Regions from separate parts of the Homo sapiens genome. Here region 2 is linked to region 1. The links are contacts of gene promoters, found by promoter capture Hi-C in blood cells and fetal thymus (Javierre and others, 2016). All regions are on one chromosome and are shown on one strand. The core of a region is centred on a gene start or on the middle of the fragment in contact, and the rest is flanking DNA. Distances in the headings are between cores, read along the strand shown. Region 1 holds the start of ABHD16B (abhydrolase domain containing 16B). Region 2 holds the start of LKAAEAR1 (LKAAEAR motif containing 1).

Evidence for each region. Contacts are between HindIII fragments. The CHiCAGO score rates a contact against its expected background, and 5 or more counts as called.
Region 2: a contact is called between the fragment with the promoter of LKAAEAR1 here and the fragment with the promoter of ABHD16B in region 1, in 2 of 17 cell types (endothelial precursors and M1 macrophages). The highest score is 5.4, in endothelial precursors.

What each region holds. Positions count from the first base shown.
Region 1 is chr20:63,858,435-63,864,465 of GRCh38, reverse strand. ABHD16B (abhydrolase domain containing 16B) reads right to left here and starts at 2,968. Exons shown (of 1, transcript NM_080622.4): 1 at 1,478-2,968. The coding sequence starts at 2,925. The coding sequence ends at 1,516. ABHD16B-AS1 (ABHD16B antisense RNA 1) reads left to right here. Exons shown (of 2, transcript NR_165314.1): 2 at 196-3,251. RefSeq lists enhancers at 1-145, 239-468 and a silencer at 5,761-5,920. The HindIII fragment of the contact is 10,144 bases long and covers 1-6,031 here.
Region 2 is chr20:64,082,232-64,088,262 of GRCh38, reverse strand. LKAAEAR1 (LKAAEAR motif containing 1) reads left to right here and starts at 3,865. Exons shown (of 3, transcript NM_001353425.2): 1 at 3,865-4,445; 2 at 4,558-4,680; 3 at 4,769-4,887. The coding sequence starts at 4,044. The coding sequence ends at 4,828. All of the region lies in intron 1 of OPRL1 (opioid related nociceptin receptor 1), which reads right to left. RefSeq lists silencers at 1,141-1,341, 4,453-4,532, 4,713-4,772. The HindIII fragment of the contact is 5,360 bases long and covers 2,326-6,031 here.

The DNA of each region.
Region 1 (6,031 bases), core at 1,719-4,218:
TGTCCTTTTCATGGGGACTTTTTATTGTACGCGGGTTACTCTGAAAAAGATCGCGATTCGTCCCCTCGCCCTGCAGGCGCCGCTGCCGCCTCGCCTCGGGCGTGGACCCTGCGGCTCGGGCCTGCGCGTGTGCACCCCGAGGTTGTCTCACTTCCTGTTCAGGGCGACCAGCGCTGCGCCCTCCCCACTCCACAGATGAGGAAGCTGAGGTTAAAGTCACTTGCCCCAGGTCACTCCGCAAGTTGAAGCGCAACCAGGATACTCTGGAACAGGATGCCTGACTTCAGAGGAGAGGCGCGTAACCACCAGGCAACTGGCCCCACGAAAACAAGTCCCGCAACTTCCCTTCTTTGGCTCCTACTTGCTCCCGGAAGAAAAGCCTTAAACGGTATTCAAGCCCTTTAGGATCTGATGTCCTAGGACTCCACTCTGGGCTTCCAGCCTGGGGTGGTACTGGTCCCTAGGCATGGAAGCTCCTCCCACTGCCCCTTCCTTCACCCGGCCACCTCCTCCCACAGGTGTCTTCCTGGTACTCTTGCACAGGCCCGAGTCCCTTACCACCACGGCCTTAGCCTGCTCTCGTGCTCTCAGTAATGTTTTCTCCATTTGCTGCCTTTCATTCTTTCCAGAGATTCTTGCTCAACCCAACCAGGCCAGCCCGGGGACTAGGGACATGTAGGGACAATAGTCCCTGCTTCAGGCAGTTCAGGGCAGACCACAGAGATGTGACATTACAGACCATTGTGAGCAGAGGCCTTGTCCCATTCTGTGTTGCATCCCTAAGCCAGGAACAAAGTCCAGCCCAGGCCTGGCTCCAGGGGACACGCAGTAGTATCCTCTGGCCTGTGCAAGTGTATCTGTAGCCTCACATGCCACCATGTGAGTCTGCAATCTGTCTGTGAATGCCCTGGTGTAGAAGCCAGGAGTTTGGAGGTGGGAGGGAGCCCTACAGAATGATAGCCAGTGCTAACTCCTGGGAATGTCCAGCCACTAAGACCTGCCCACAGCCCTGCCATGCCAATGTCCTCCTTTTCACGGGAGCAGCTTGCACAGACTTTCAGCGCACAGCTGGCATTGTCTTCCCAGGAGCCATCCTGTAACCCAGGCCAGGTGAAGGGCTCCTCCCTGGGACCCCACAGCCCCGTTCCCATCATCCTTTTGTGGTGATCAAGGCACCCATCACACAGTATTGCCATAAACCGGGTCAGGTTAACCTTTCATTCCCTTAGGAGCTGGGTGGGGGCAGCCAAAAGTATTTGTAGGAGGAAGAGAGAAAGGAGGGGACAGAGCTAGGAAGAATGGGAGGACGGTCAGAACGCCCCTGTGAAGGAAGGAGAGCACCAAGTCCCCGTGTTCTGCCTACCCTCCCCCAGACAGCAGATCAGGAGCACCCCGCGCGCCCCCCCCCGCCCCGCCCCGCGTCGGCGCCGGCCCCCTGCAATGGTTGGCGGTATGGGGAGGTGAACCAAGAAGGCCAGGAGTTCAAGTGCGTGATCCCCCACTGGGGCATATAGGTTACAGCCGCCAGGGCAACTGAAACTCCTCAGGCTCCAGAGGGCTGAAGTGAGTCGCCTCCACGTTCTTGAGGTGCTTCCGAGCCAGGAACAGTGCGAGGCGCCGGCGCCGCCGCGAGCTCAGGCCCTGGCCCACCAGCCATGGGAAGGCGGGTCCGTGTGGCCCCAGGGCCTCCTCGCCCTCCAGCTCCTCTTCGCAGCGTGCACGGTAGGAGCGCAGCAGCGCCAGGCACCAGTCCTCGTCCACGCGGTAGCGTGCATAGAAGGCGGCCTCCTGCGCCAAGCTGCCAGCGCGCAGCCAGCGGGTGACGACGGCGCGGCCCTCTCGCGCCATCACGACGGGGTAGCGGTGCTCCAGCAGGCGCAGCAGCAGCTCATTGCCCCGGTTGCCCTCCACGTCACCAGGTGACAGGGGGCGCAGGCGGCCCGAAGTGCTGACCACGTCATCCTGCGTGCGTCGGAGCAGCAGCACCGGCCCCGGGTAGCAGCACAGCTGCTCGGCCACGTTGAGGTTGAAGTGCTCGCGCACGGTGCGCACCACCAGCCCCTTCCAACTGTGGGGCATGACCTTCAGCGCCAGCGGCACAAGGTCGTCGAAGGTGGCGTCCAGCACCAGTGCACCCAGCTCCGGGTAGGTCATGGTGGCCCAGGTGGCCGTGAAGCCGCCAACAGACCAGCCGTAGACCACCAGGTGCGCGGGCGGGAAGTGCAGGCGGTGCAGTGCGTACTCGACCACCACGTCCATGGCGTTGGCGTCGTGCTGAGGGAAGGGCACGCCAGTGCTGCTGCCGAAGCCGGGGTGGTTCCAGCCCAGCACGGAGTAGCCGGCCTCGAGCGGTGCAGACAGACAGCCCATCTCGTAGAAGCCCGCGTTGCCTTCGCAGCAGATGACGAGGCGCGGCCCGTGCACGTGGCTGCCCGGGTGCTGGCGGCGGTCCATGAACATAGTGTCGATCTCGTTGCCGTCACAGGCCACCAGCTTGGCGCGCCGGCCGTGGTAGCGCTCCACGAGGCGCTCTTGGCCCTGCTGCAGCAGCGGCAGCAGCGCGCGCGTCATCAGGGACACGGAGCCGGGGTACACGAGCCAGCGGCCCAGCGAGTGGGCCAGCGCGTAGCTAGCGAGCTGGCCGGGCAGCTCGCGGAGCTGCTGCAAGAGGCACTGCGCCTGGCTGCGCGCCCCACGTGGAGGCCGCCCCAGCGCATCCCCGCCCAGCGTCTCGTCCCGCAGCAACCACACGCCCGCCGCGGCTGCCGCGCAGGTCAGCGCCCGGTGGCTGCTGCTCCGGCCCACGGCGCGCACGTCATCCCAGCGGAAGGCCACGGGCCAGCCGCGGAATGGGTAGGTGTAGCTGGCGGTCAGGTAGATCTTGAACACGCGCACCAGCGCCTTCACGAAGCAGATGACGCACATGAGCGGTGGCCCTAACGCCCAGCCGCTGGGCCGGGATCGCCGCGAGAGGCACAGGGCAGTCTTAGGGGATACCGGCTCCCGGACAAGCCCTGATGGCCTTTGTGACCTGGCCTTCCAGGGCGGAGGGAAGGCTGCATCCTGTTGCTAGGTGATGGGTGCACAAAGGGTTCCCAGAGATGATGAACCCAAGGTTCTGCCCGTCCCCCGCCTTCGCCAAGACCCCACCAGCTAAACGCTCCCAGGCCCAGCTTTCCCACCCATGATTTGAGCAGCTACTGTCTCCCTCTTTCTTCCTTATTTATTTATTAAATTGAGATGGGGTCTCACTATGCTGCCTAGGCTGGTCTTGAACCCCTGGGCTCAAGCGATCCTCCCGCCTCCACCTCCCACAGTGTTGGGATTACAGGTGTGAGTCCCTGCACCCCGCCTCCACCTCCCACAGTGTTGGGATTACAGGTGTGAGTCCCTGCACCCCGCCTCCCTCTTCCTTAAATTTAAGATGGACAGCCCCACGGGCCAAAAAGGGACAGCAAGGCCTCCTCCGCCTGTACCAGGCTTGCTGTGGGTCCTGCAAGTTTCCCTTCAGGGTCTGCTGGTTTAAACCTCATCTCCCCAGGACGGCCGGGGTCAGAGACAGGGCTGCTGCTGCACCAAAAAGGCGGTATTTGCTCTCGGCCCGGCCCCTCCTCTCCACACCTTCCTTCTTCGGTGCTGACCAGAAACAAGCCCTCTCCTTTTCTGGATCCTCTTTTCACTGGCTGCCAGCAACAGCAGTGACCTTCTGGGGCGGGTCCTGCCTGGCTGGGGTTCCTCTTTCTCGCTCCTGGGTCGAGCCCCCACTCCCAGGCTGCGCCTCCCTCTTTTCTGGAGAGGTATCTTTTCTCCTGCCCTGGAAAGGGCCAGCCCACCTGAGGGCAGGGTCGGAAGCCGCCTGCCAGGAGGAGCCCCAGGGAAGAGGGCAGCTCCAGGTACTCAACAGCTCCCCAGACCAGAAACAAACATGCTACAATCAGGGAGTTTGGCAAATCCAGCCAGAGCCTCTGAGCCCAGGTGCCAGGCCCGCCTGGGACCCCAGCCTTCTGGGGAAGGGGTAGTTTCAGGCTGAAGCACCCCCTCTCTGCTCTCCTGCTCAGCGTCTGGGTTAGAGGCACTGCCTGACCCTAACAGGCCCCGCCCCTAGTTGGGGGAGTCAGCTGCTGCCTTTAGGGGTTGGGGGACAGAAGACAGGGACCAATTAACAAAGGGAGCGATTTGGGGGGCTATTACCCCCATTCTAGGTTGCCAGATAAAATACAGAATAATATGCCAGTTAAATTGGAATTACAAATAAACAAATACTTTTTGGGTATAAGTATGTTCCAACTTCTGCTTGAGACATTATTTTAAAATTGTTTATCTGAAATTCAAATTTAACTGGATATCCTGTTTTTTCTGTTTGTTTGTTTGTTTGTTTTTGAGACGGAGTCTCACTCTTGTCGCCCAGGCTGGAGTGCAATGGTGCAATCTCAGCTCACTGCAACCTCTGCCTCCTGGGTGTTCAAGCAATTCTCCTGCCTCAGCCTCCCAAGTAGCTGGGATTACAGGTGCCCGCCACCATGCCCGGCTAACTTTTTGTACTTTTAGTAGAGATGGGGTTTCACCACGTTGGTCAGGCTGGCCTCTAACTCCTGACCTCAGGTGGATCACCCGCTTTGGCCTCCCAAAGTGCTGGGATTACAGGCAGGAGCCACCGCACCCGGTCTAGATATACCCTGTTTTTAAATTTGTTTTTGTTTTGCTAAATCTGGCAGTCCTACCCCCAGGCACACACACAGTTGAGATCCAGATTTTCCTGGTTATCCAGCTTTGATCTCCGATTGGCTACTGTGCTCATTGGTCAAAGCCTGAGGACAAAGAGGGTGTCTCAGGGTCCACTGGTGCACCTGTCACACCATCCTTTCCACTGGGTCCTGGGCAGCAACAGGAGCCCTGCCCCAGGAGGAAACACACAGGGTACTGCCCCTGCAGCCAAGGGATGGGCAAGGCTTCCCCTGGGGATTGGTGGTTCTGGTCCTGCTCAAGTGTCCACCCCTGACCCTGTGGGGAAAGGAGCCTGGTGGATAGGGGTGGGGATGGAAACTTCTGCAGAGGGTGGGAGATGATTCCTTTCCCAGGAGCCTCTTTCATAAACTCAGCGGCTGCCTACTCTAGGCAGGTTGGGGCTGTGGGCCCAAAGGCTACCGGCCCATTTTGTGTGAGACCACAGGAGTGAACCCAGCAGCAGAGCCGAAGTTCTGACAGGAGGTGTCCCTGCCACCTCAGTTCAGATCCTGGCAGCGGCAGGAGTCCTGGAGGACTGTCCACGCAGGATGTTGGACGCACTAAACCTTATTTTGATTCCCCTGAGCAGATCCTGCTTGGAGGAGCCTCGTCCTCCTGGGGGCAGTCTCCCAGCTTGATCTGCTCTGGGACTTGTTTGGAAATGCAGGCTTTTCTTTAGCCAGGCCCACCTGCCCTTAGCTTCCCCCACAACAACCCACCCACACACACACACAGAGCAGGAAGTTCTTGAGAGGAGGAGGGGAGAGCCTGGGACCGGATTCTGAGGGGCAGAGGTCAGCGGGCTGGAGCCGCTGGCCCCCAGGGGTTCCATGCCTCATCCTGTGTCTGGCCCAGCCCCTGATCCCACCAGCCCACGGGAGTCCAAGTGCCCCAGAACCCCCGGCTCTGTTGAGACAGGAAAGCATGTGACAGGAAGGGAGCTGTCCCCTCTCCAGAAGAGCCCCCAGACGACCAGCTGCAGCAGCCATGACCTCTTGTGCCTCCACCGCCATCAGCTCAGGGAAGTGTCCACAAGGTGGAGGTGGGGGCTGTGTCCCTGCTGATCTGTTTGTGGAGGCAACCCCCACCTCCACCCCGGTGCCCTCCACGCCGACATCTGAGCGTGCACCCACCCCCACAGGGCCTGCCAGTCTCTGAGCCCTCCACCCCTTGGTTCCCACCCTCCTGCATTGGGCCCTCCTGCACTGGGGCAGGGCTCTCCCCCTGGCCAGTCCTGCCAACCCTCCTGCACTGAACCCTCCCTGGAGGCCCTTGATTTATGCCAGTGGAGCCTGCAGAGCCAACC
Region 2 (6,031 bases), core at 2,616-5,115, 220 kb before region 1:
TCTGGCCCCTTGCATGGATCCTGCCCCACCCCAGCCAGCTCCAGTCCTACCTCCTCCAAGAAGCCTACCCCAGGACCCCCAGCCCTGGGAACCTTCCTAACTTGGCCATTATTCAGTAATACGGCTGCCAGGCTAGGCCTGTGAGCTCTGGTCTCAGCAGATATCCTCTGAGAGTGTGGTCAGCAGAGCCCCGCAGGAGGCAGGCACCTGGCCCCTCACAGGCGCAGTCTTAGAGTGAAAGACAGGCCTGGTCACCTGGCTAGGGGATTGGCCAGGTGTGACACTGACAGTGCTCCCTGGGGTTGGCAGGGGCCCAGCCCTGGACCCAGAAACGCTCCCACGGAGGAGAACTGGTGGTGCAGATGAAATGGCCCAGGTATCTCTAGACCCCTAATAGAGTCCTGCCCTCCCCCAACCTGCCAAGGGTGGGGTGGTCCCTCCAGAAGGGGGAAGGTAGAATCAGGGTCCTATATAGAACATATATGTTACACAAGAGATAGCAAGAGGCACATGTTATATGAGAGAGCAAGACAACCTCAAACACACATGTTCTGGGCAGGCGAAACAATATGCAAGGATACTAGGGATAGCCCAAGACACGAACGATGACACGCGAATGACAGCACAGAGCTTGTGTGCGAGGATACTAGGGATAGCCCAAGACACGAACGATGACACGCGAATGACAGCACAGAGCTTGTGTGCGAGGATACTAGGGATAGCCCAAGACACGAACGATGACACGCGAATGACAGCACAGAGCTTGTGTGCGAGGATACTAGGGATAGCCCAAGACACGAACGATGACACGCGAATGACAGCACAGAGCTTGTGTGCGAGGATACTAGGGATAGCCCAAGACACGAACGATGACACGCGAATGACAGCACAGAGCTTGTGTGCGAGGATACTAGGGATAGCCCAAGACACGAACGATGACACGCGAATGACAGCACAGAGCTTGTGTGCGAGGATACTAGGGATAGCCCAAGACACGAACGATGACACGCGAATGACAGCACAGAGCTTGTGTGCGAGGATACTAGGGATAGCCCAAGACACGAACGATGACACGCGAATGACAGCACAGAGCTTGTGTGCGAGGATACTAGGGATAGCCCAAGACACGAACGATGACACGCGAATGACAGCACAGAGCTTGTGTCCACAGATTAAAGCCTGACACAGGCTGCTCTTGGAGCTCCTGGGTATTTGGGCAGGCCTGGGTTCCGGGGTGAGATTCACACCCACTCAGCAGGCAAATACACACACCTCACTCTCATCCAGTGACTCAGAATCAGCAAACGCCAGACGGCAGCTGGAACACTGTCTTTTGTCCTCCCCACTCCCACCCCCAGGGCAGGCACAGTCTACCCTCCTCCTTCCACAGGCTCACCACCCTGGGCTGGCCAAGAACAGGAATCAAGGCAGAGGGTCTGGCAGCCCCTCACAGAGCAGCCATCCCCCAGGGAAGCCAGTCACCAGGCCGCACATTTGTGCTATTAAAAAAGTGAAAGAATTTTTAACAATTCTGAGTTTCATCAAAATAAATTACTTTGTCCTTGTGATTTTAACTTTACAAAATCTATATACAATGACAAAAAAAATTGAGTTGTAGCTTCTCAATATCATGTTAAATTTTGTAGTCATTAATAAAGCTTACTAATTTGACTTGAAGTTTCATCGTCAGGCCTTGGCAGCAATAAACATGCTTTTAGATCTCAGCATTTCCGTTAGCCCTTGAAAAACACGTGAATCCTGGGGACAGAAACAGATGGGAGGTGTCGGCCTGCTGGGTCCCTCACAGTTGCTGGACCCCAAACACACAGAGAACACCTCCCTTCTTGCAGAACTGCAAACGTGTGGAGAAACAGTAGGGGTGAGGAATGTGAGCCAGGTAGGCCCTGGGAGTACCTGCTGCAAATTATGGACTAGGGGGTGTCAAGGTTTTCCAGTCCTATAAAAAGAGGTTACAAGCCCCTTCTTGCAGAACAGAAGAATATTCCCCTACTCCCTGCGTGACTCCCCCACAAACGCCAAGAGCCAGAAAGTGCCCCACCCATGTGTCCCCCTGGCCTGGACCCAGGGAAGCTGAGAGGATGGCCCAGGTCCCTGTCTCAAAGGACTCACCCCTATGGGAGCACAAAGGCTGCCCAGAGAAAGCGGCTGCTGGGTGAGCATCCCTAAGCAGTCACTGCTGCTTCTGGAGACCAGGGACCTTCCTCAAGCCAAGCTGGTGCTGCAGCCCAGGCAGGACCCCAAAGGCACCTGCAGGAGGGGAGGGAACAGCACCAGGAAGGGCCTTCCTGGGGAGCAGCAAAAGCTTGAGGGCTGGAAGGATGGGCCTAGCTGTGGGATGGGGTGCCGGCTCTGGGACATAGGGCTGAATGTCAAAATTTACCCTCTTACTGAGAGGCCAGGGCAGTCTCCCAAAAACAATGGGAACACCCAACAGCCTCCTGCCAAAAGGCCAGAAGCTCAGCTAAGACCCTGCTCCTCAGCTGGGACAGCCCTACTCCCAAACTCACAGGTTCCAAACTCCCAGCAAGGTGTCCCAGCGGCAGGTCTGTGAATATAGAGAGAGTACAGACATCTCGTGGAAGTAATAGATACGTAACAGATTGGACTTTTTGCACTAATTTTTGCCTAATTTAAACTGTGGAATAAGCACGTGAATTAGGAAATTCTAGAACACACTTATGAGTGCCTGAAGAAATTATAAAATGATTAAGTAGTTAATTGAGAATTAGTTACAAAACAAAGGAATGCACAAATAGATTTCCAAAATCTAGTATCTAGGACCCAAGATCCCAAGACACAGTGTTCAGCAAAACCCAGCTCTAGTCCTGGGGACACCAGGACCCCTGAGACCCCAAACTTGCCCTAGAAGAGGTGAGGGGTCCTGAGTTCTGCCCCATTATCCCTTTCTGTGAACACCAGTGGCTGGGGCCAGAGCCCCCTGGCCATCAGAAGGGAATGGGCCTTAACCACAAAGGTCTCCTCATAGCCGAGGGCCCCACCCACAAAACTAACCCCAAAGACCCCTCAAGCCAGGAACCTGGGCCCACAACCCCTAGGATGGCGCGTCTGCGGCCGCCTGGAAAGGACGCTCACCCAAGCTGGAGAAGCCGGCTCTATGCCTCTATGCCCCAATGACCCCTATGAGGGGCGCGTCCACGCCCAGACTCTAACCCAGGGCCCTCCGGAGGGGACCCTGCCCCCCGCCACGACCCGCCCCACCTGGTCGAGGGAGGGGCAGGACTCCCGGTTGCTGGGCAACCGCGTCAACAAGCCCAAAGAGTCTGGGCTACGGCGGAGGTTCTTCCGACCAGAGAAGGCAGCAAGCAGGGGGTGTAGGGACCAAGAGGTGGGGGCTGGGCCTCGGCTGCAGGAGCTAAGGAGGGGCGGGGGCGTTAGCCGCCGCTGGGGCTGGCCGTGGCTCTGCCTCTGGCACAGCGAGCCCAGCCCTGGCTGGACAAGGTGGCAGCTGTAGGCTGGGGCCGGGAAGGGAGGAGCCAGCTGGGCTTTTGGACCCTCCCTCCTCTGTCACCTGCCCTCTAGGCTCTGCTCCCCACAACCATCTAGGCCTCGAAGGGCAAGAGCGAGCTGTCTGGTGGGAGACCCTGACTGTCGGGGACCGCAGACATAGGGGCACAACGAAGGTCCCCCAGGCGTCACCTAGAGCTCTCCATGTGGCAGGGCCTGAGATCAACCCAGTGGGGTCTCAGCATTTTCTCAATTCAAACAGAACAGTCCATCGGGTAGGAAAGATATTTCCTACAACTGAGTTGATCAGAAAGTCCTAGTTGACTGCAGGACTGAGCAGGATCAGCCGATGGCAGAGCTGCTGGGGACGTGCGCTTGGGAGAGGGAGAGCGCCTGGGCAAAGCTCAGAGGCTGGGGGTGCGGAACTCAAAACCGACTGCGGAGAGCCCAGCGGGCGGGAGCTGGGGCGCACGTTGGGGCCCTGCCGAGGGGCGGGCAGGGCCCGGTGCCAGCCCCGGCACCGACGGGACGCCCTCCTCCCTCCGCAGGGCGGGAGGATGCCGCCGCCAGCGAAGGAGGGCGGGCGCAAGGGCCCGCGGGAGCGAAGCGGGAAGAGCGCGCCAGGCACGGCGCAGGGTGAGGAGCGTGCCAAGGGGGCGCCCGCGACAGAGCCCCCCAAGCCGGGCTGGGCCCTGACGCCGCAGGGACTGGCGGCCATGCTCCCTGCGCAGCGCCACCGCCATCTGCTCTTCGGCGACCTGCTGGAGGACGTGGGCGCGGCGGCCTCCACCTTCCCGTGCGGGTCGGTGGAACCGGGGTACCGCATGCCCGACCCGCGCCCGTGGACGCAGTCGCTCGAGCTGCCCGCCGAGCGCCAGAACCGGCTCCTCGGCGTCCTCAAGGCAGCGGAGGCCCGCGGGCGAGTCCGCGCCCTGCGGCTGCGCTACACCCGCATGCGGGTGAGGCGAGGGGGTCGGAGGGCAGAGGGGGCGCACCGGGAGCGTTGAGCGGAGCCGGCCGGGGCGGGGCGGGGCGGGGCTCGGCGCGCGCTCAGCTACCCGGGCCCCGCAGGCCGAGGAGATCGCGCTGCTCATCCAGCGGCAGAAGTCCGCGCGCGCCGCCATCCGGCTGGAGCTGTTCCTGCCGCCGCAGCTGAAGCCCGCGCGGATCCCGGACCCCCTGGACCGCCAAGAGGTGCAGACAAGCCCCGGTAGGGGCGGGGAAAGGGGAGGGGCCCTGCCCGCCTCCGCACACGCCGGACCCCAGCCTCTCTCCCCGGCAGCGGAGGCGCGTGGAGACCATCCTGGAGGAGAACGTGGATGGCACCATCTTCCCGCGGTGACGGCGACTGAGAGTGTGCGACGCGCCCCAGCCTCCCACATAAAGTTATAATTCTCCGAAGGCTCGCTGGTCTTTTTGCTGCCACTCCCCAGGACCCCGAGGGAAGCGGGGAGTATGGACGCTGCCTCTCCCATGCACCTCACAGACATCAGGGTACAGAGAGTGGGGCCTCTCCCAAAAAAGTGGGGAGACGCAAGTGGGTGGGTGTGAAAGTAACAGGTCAGGGACACGCCTACCCCTAATCCCGATCTGCCCCCCACTGGCAACCTGGCGTTCTGTGGGTCTATGGGAGGCCCCCAGTCTTGGGGAGGACGGAGAAAGAGCCTGTTTCAGCAGAAGTCACCCCCAGATGTAAGGGTAGCCTCAGGCTGCAGTGGTCTCGAGTGCGAGTCATCCCACCAGGGGGCCAGGGAGAGGGCAGTGCTGTGGGCAGCGGAAGTGACCTAAGCTGGCCTTTGAAGAAGCAGCAGCTGTGCCCAAGAGGACCAAGAGACTGGGCAAGGGGAACCCCTGCGGCCCCCAGACAAAAATCCCACCCTCTGGCCTTCCTTTCCATCCTGAATAGCCTCCTGTGACCCCTTTAATGCCCCATGCCACACCCCCACACCCACCCCCCCACACACACACACCCCACACACACTCACGCATGCAGTACAAAAGGAAGCCACCCCTGTCCCATTCTGACAAACAGGCCCACGACCTACAAAATCCCTGGACTCTGAAAAGCCCCGAGGTTTCTGGGCAGACCTTACTTTTCTCCCCGACGTGAGCTCTTTGCAGACGCTGGGGCTTCCCTAGGCCCCCGCTTCCTTTTCCTCCCTCCCAGCCCCCTGCCCAGCAGGCTGCACAGAAGCGGGACCGCAGGAACTCAGACAAACCGCTCCTCCTGCTAGGGGGCTCCAGCTGACTGGAAGGAGGGGCAGAGGTCAGAACTGGGGTCCAGAAGGGATCCTGCTCCATGGCAGCCAGTGTTTCTCCCCAGCCCCGGCCAGGGGGTGGAGCCCTGCGCACTCGCCCCTCAGCCAGCCCTTCTCCCCGTGCACCGAGCACTTTACTCTTTCTGGGCTGTTGCTGCCCTTGGCCTTGACCCAAGCCCAGACTGTATACAGAGCTCAGAAGTCAGCTGACAAGGAGGGGACAGAGAGATGGCAGGAGGGGTTTCAGGAAGGGAAGGGTAGAGAGGAAGGAGGCCAGGGAGAAGGGG